Linked DNA regions of Homo sapiens: region 1 is linked to region 2. The links are contacts of gene promoters, found by promoter capture Hi-C in blood cells and fetal thymus (Javierre and others, 2016). All regions are on one chromosome and are shown on one strand. Each heading gives the region's core, a stretch centred on a gene start or on the middle of the fragment in contact. The rest is flanking DNA. Distances are from core to core; before and after follow the strand shown. Region 1 overlaps PLEKHA4 (pleckstrin homology domain containing A4). Region 2 holds the start of DBP (D-box binding PAR bZIP transcription factor).

Region 1 (2,700 bases), core at 110-2,609, 210 kb after region 2:
GTCAGAAGTTCAAGACCAGCCTGGCCAACATGGTGAACCCTCGTGTCTACTAAAAATACAAAAAAAAATTAGCCGGGGGTGGTGGTGCATGCCTGTGATCCCAGCCACTCGGGAGGCTGAGGCAGGAGAATTGCTTGAACCCAGGAGGTGGAGGTTGCAGTGAGCTGAGATCGTGCCACTGCACTCCAGCCTGTGCAACAGAGCGAGACACTGTCTCAAAAAAAAAAAAAAGAAAAAGAAAAAACTGTCTTTTCTTTCTATGTTGTTTTACTGTGTTACATCTATTATAAATAGGTGACCATACGAATATGAGAGTCTGTTCTTTTTGTTTGTTTTTGGAGACAGTCCCTCCCTCTGTCACCCAGGCTGGCGTGCAATGGCTTGATCATAGCTCACTGCATCCTCGAACTCTTGGGCTTAAGCGATCCTTCCACCTCAGCCTCCTGAGTAACTGGGACCACAGGCGTGCACAACCAGGCCCAGCTAATTTTTTCACTTTTATTTTTAGTAGAGACAGAGTTTCACCATGTTGCCCAGGCTAGCCTCAAACTCCTGGGCTCAGGTGATCCACCTGCCTCATCCTCCTAAAGTGCTGGGATTACAGGTGTGAGCCACTGCAGCTGGCATGGGTCTGTTCTTGCCAAGTCTGGATTGTAGATCTAGTGGGAGCAGCTTAGAGTGAGAAGATGCATTTAAAACTAGGCATCAATGGTTTTTTGTTTTTTGGGGTTGTTGTTGTTGTTTTTTAAGATGGAGTCTCTCCCTATCACCCAGGCTGGAGTGCAGTGTCACGATCTCGGCTCACTGCAACCTCCGCCTCCCGGGTTCAAGCGATTCTCCTGCCTCAGCCTCCTGAGTAGCTGGGACTACAGGCGTGCACCAGCACACCCAGCAAATTTTTCTATTTTTAGTAGAGACAGGGTTTCACCATGTTCGTCAGATTGGTCTCCAACTCCTGACCTCAAGTGATCCACCTGCCTTGGCCTCCCAAAGTGCTGGGACTACAGGCGTGAGCCAACACGCCCGGCCGTGTCAATGTTTTTAAAGATACATGATTTAGAACTTGATGGCTAGATTTAGAGTGAAAAAGCAGGTCTGAGGCTAAGCAATGAGGTTTATATTTTAGGAGCAGAGCTTGCACTAAAGGAATGGGTTCAGAACTGGAACTCCAGAGGATAAATTTAACAGCAAAAGTCAGGATGCAGGATGCAAGAGATGAACTTGCAAGATGGAAAAAAGGCTGAGGGTTGGAGTTTTGCTGGTGAGAGCATGGCTTCAACAAGAGGAGAGATTTAGAACCAGGGGAGAGAGCAGCTCTGGATCTGAAGTAGGTATTAAAACGAAAGGCATTGGCCGGGCGCAGTAGCTCATGCCTATAATCCCAGCACTTTGGGAGGCCGAGGCAGGCGGATCAGAAGGTCAGGAGTTCAAGACCACCCTAATCAACATGGTGAAACCCCGTCTCTACTAAAAATACAAAAATTAGCCAGGCGTGGTGGCACACGCCTGTAGTCCCAGCTAGAGGCTGAGGCAGGAGAATCACTTGAACCCGGGAGGCAGAGGTTGCAGTGAGCCGAGATCACACCACTGCACTCCAGCCTGGGCAACAGAGCAAGACTCCATCTCATAAATAAATAAGAGGGCGGCCAGGCGCCGTGACTCACGCCTGTAATCCCAGCACTTTGGGAGGCCGAGGCGGGTGGATCATGAGGTCAAGAGATCTAGACCATCCTGGCCAACATGGTGAAACCCCATCTCTACTAAAAATACAAAAATTAGCTGGGCATGGTGGCACACACCTGTAGTCTCAGCTACTGGGGAAGCTGCGGCAGGAGAATTGCTTGAGCCTGGGAGGTGGAGGTTGCAGTGAGTCGAGATTGTGCCACTGCACTCCAGCCTGGCGACAGAGCAAGACTATGTCTCACACACACAAAAAAAGAAAATAAAAAATAGAAGGGCTGTGTGCGGTGGCTCACGCCTGTAATCTCAGCACTTTGGGAAGCTGAGGCGGGTGGATCACCTGAGGTCAGGAGTTCAAGACCAGCCGGACCAACATGGAGAAACCCCGTCTCTCATAAAACTACAAAATTAGCCAGACATGGTGGTGCATGCCTGTAATCCCAGCTACTCGGGAGGCTGAGGCAGGAGAATTGCTTGAACCTGGGAGGCGGATGTTGCGGTGAACCGAGATTGCACCATTGCACTCCGGTCTGGGCAACAGAACGAGACTCTATCTCAAAAAATATAATAAAATAAATAAAATAAAAATAAAAGAGTAGGCCAGGCACAGTGGCTCACACCGGTAATCCCAGAACTTTGGGAGGCCGAGGTGGGTGGATCACCTGAGGTCAGGAGTTCGAGACCAGCCTGACCAACATGGTGAAACCCCCCTCTCTACCGAAAATAGAAAAATTAACCGGGCATGGTGGTGGTCATCTGTAATCCCAGGTACTTGGGAGGCTGAGGGAGGAGAATCGTTTGAACCTGGGAGGCGGAGGTTGCAGTGAGCCAAGATTGTGCTACTGCACTCCAGCCTGGGCAATAAAGCGAGACTGTCTCAAAAATAAAAATAAAAAATAAAAGAGTATAATGGATTGTTTGTAACACAAAAGATAAATGCTTGAGGGGATGGACACCCCATTTTCCATGATGGGATTATTATACATTGCATGCCTGTACCAAAATATCTTATGCACTTCA
Region 2 (2,700 bases), core at 136-2,635:
CGGGCCGGGAAAGACGGGTTGGGATGAGGGTGAGGTGGGGGAGATAGAGATGGAGAAGAGACCCCGAGTCCGAGAGGCACAGGGCGGAGATCCAGAGAAAGAGGGGACGGGGGGTCGGAGAGGAGAGACGGGAGAAAAAGGGACGGAGACGCAGAGTGGGAGAGAGACCCAGAAAGAATGGAGACGGGGGTGGCAGAGACAGGTGGACAGATTCACAGAGATGGGGACAGAATGCCGGGAAGGAATAGACACACAGAAAGACAGCGAACCAGAGAAAGAGAGACGGAAGTTCAGGAATAGGGGGGCAGGGACAGGGTAGGTGGAGGGTTGGGCAGGTGAGAGAAAAAATGACAGCTCTGTAATTTCACTGTAATTACCCAACCCCCATCCCCTGCGCGCTGTACCCCCTTCCCCTCCCCCACCATCTGTAAGGGGCAGGAAGGGGCTCTATTCCTGGGGCACATCCCTCATCCCTAGACTCCATGTGACCCCATGACGCCCCGCCCAAGCCCGTGTCACCACCGTGTGAGCACCCGACACACCCCCTCCCTGGGACCCCAGGGGTCCAGACTCCCGGACCAAAAGGAAGAGGAGGCTGGGGCCTACACTCTTGTGAACTAAGCGGGGAGGACGTTGGGGACGTTGGTGCCTGGGTCCTTAGGGTGGACGGGCTTCAGAGCCGGCGCTTTTGGGTCCTGGGCGCTAAGGGATCTAGGGGCCTAAACACCTGAGTAATTGAGTAGATTAAGGTTGGGAAGATGGACTCCCCGCACGCAGGTTTCTATGGGACCCCACCCCACGGCACCTGAGTCCCTAAGGGGGTAGGGTGTCCGAAGTGGGTGAGATGGGGGTTAGAACTCACAGCTGGCCGGCTCTTTGGGCTTGCTGGTCCCCTGCAGAAGGCTCCGCAACCCAAGCAGCGCTCCCCCGCCAGGGGGTGTCCCGGCCGGGCCGCCCAGCAGCAGAGGGGCCGGGGTCCTGTCGCTCACAGGCCGCGCCATCGCCTGGCACCTGCCCCCAGGCTCACGGGTTCATGGAGAGGCGAAGGGCTGGCCTGCCAGTCACCAGCACACTCCAGTGGTTTGGACGAGTGTCTGCCCAGGGGCGGGCGAGTGTAGCCTGCAACCCTCCAGTATCCAGAACGCTGCAAATCCTAGGAGCGACGGGGATTTGAGGTCCTCGGTGCAGAAACGTGCAACTCAAGAGGGTCCCGGGAGATCATGCAATCTGGGCGAGGGGGTGTCCAGATCAAGCGGTCGGCTCTTTGCAACCGAGGGTGAGAGGGGACTCAAGGCGCTCCTTCTACAAGGTGGGCGAGCCTGGCTCTTGCAAAATCTGCAGCTCTCGCAACGGAAGGCGCTTTGCAATCTGCACCGAGAGGTGTGCGCGGAGGGGCGGAGGAGGGGGCAGGAGGAGGCGGCCGCCTTGAGGCGTGGCCAAAGCAAACTTCTTTCGCGGAAAAAAAAATCCAAACCAAAACACCCGACGCCACAGCGCGCGCCCCTCCTCCGGGTCCCCGCCCGGCGCGTCCAGCCCCGCCAGCCTCTATGGGCATGCAACCCAGCCGCGTGCCTCCCTCCGGCTGCAAACACGGACCAATCGTCTCCGACACCTTGAGACGCACAGCCAATGGGGCCTCTGGGTCCGCCAGGGCCCAGGAGGGCGCGTGAGGGGCTCAGCGCGTGAAGTTGCCTTGCCTTTCGGTGGGAGGCGGGACACTGACCTACATTTGCCCAATGGGAGGCGGTACTGGGGGGCGGGACCGTGACCCAGTTTGGGCCAATGAGGCAGGCGGGAGGGGGAAGCACATGGCTCTGCTCGTGCTGCCTGATGGCGAGGGGGGTGATGGGGGGAAAAGGGGCGCCGCTTAAAGGGGCCGCGGTCCTAAAGATGGTTTTGAGAAGCAGGAAGCCAAAATACCGAGAGCGGAGGTTTAGAAAGAGGAAGATTGGTTTCCGGAAGAAGTCTGTTCTTTAATACCCAAATGTTTCCCCACCGCGCCTAGAATCAGACCACTGAGAAAACAGGAAGTATTCTGTCCCTTTAATAGCTTTGTTTTAGGGGTAACTCCCCTCGCCTTGTGGGGAGGCTTAGGACGGGCGGGTGCAATCCTCGAAGGGGAGTCTCAGCGACCATGGGGGACACCATCCACTGTAAGACAGAGAACAACGGCAGGGGGCGTCAGTATAGGATGGAAGGGGCGGGGGGTGTGCAGGGGGCGTGGGCTGCGCCGCGCTGGGCCCTACCGTCGGAAGTCTGCGAGCGGGGAACCAGAATGTACTAGGTCGAGAAGCACTGGGCTGAACCACAAGAAGCCAATAGGAGGGGGGAATCGGGACGTCCAGATTCAGCAGTAGGCTGAACTACTTGAAGGTCTTCATGGGGGGGGGGGGGTGTGGACTGTACCATGTTGCGAAGCCGGGGGTGTGTGAGATTCCTGGGCTAAACCACAGGGAGGCAGAGGTGGAGGGAAGGGGTTGTACCTTGTAGATTCTCAGTAAGGGGGAAGGGAGCATCAGATTGTGGAACAGCGTAAGGTAGTACGACTTGGAAAGGGAGAGAGGATCCAAATTGTACCATTTTGGAAATTCACAGTAATAGGAAGCACAGAACAGTAGGTAATTGGACCATAGGAAGGCAGGGGTCAAGGGTTATAGACCAAGTTACAAAGCAGTGAAGAGGAAAGACAAATCGTGGGCT

The links. The method cuts DNA at HindIII sites, captures the fragments that hold promoters and counts their contacts. A CHiCAGO score of 5 or more calls a contact.
Region 1: a contact is called between a fragment that was not itself captured here and the fragment with the promoter of DBP in region 2, in 2 of 17 cell types (megakaryocytes and endothelial precursors). The highest score is 6.9, in megakaryocytes.

The regions. Positions count from the first base shown.
Region 1 is chr19:48,848,580-48,851,279 of GRCh38, forward strand. All of the region lies in intron 13 of PLEKHA4 (pleckstrin homology domain containing A4), which reads right to left. Among named protein-coding and RNA genes, the nearest start is that of HSD17B14, 13 kb to the left of the region's middle. The HindIII fragment of the contact is 4,147 bases long and covers 1-2,700 here.
Region 2 is chr19:48,635,994-48,638,693 of GRCh38, forward strand. It overlaps DBP (D-box binding PAR bZIP transcription factor), which reads right to left and starts at 1,386. Exons shown (of 4, transcript NM_001352.5): 1 at 863-1,386. The coding sequence starts at 1,001. CA11 (carbonic anhydrase 11) reads right to left here. Exons shown (of 9, transcript NM_001217.5): 9 at 1,953-2,151. The coding sequence ends at 2,126. It also overlaps the pseudogene SEC1P. RefSeq lists silencers at 974-1,093, 1,324-1,433, 1,604-1,823 and an enhancer at 2,434-2,603. The HindIII fragment of the contact is 6,625 bases long and covers 1-2,700 here.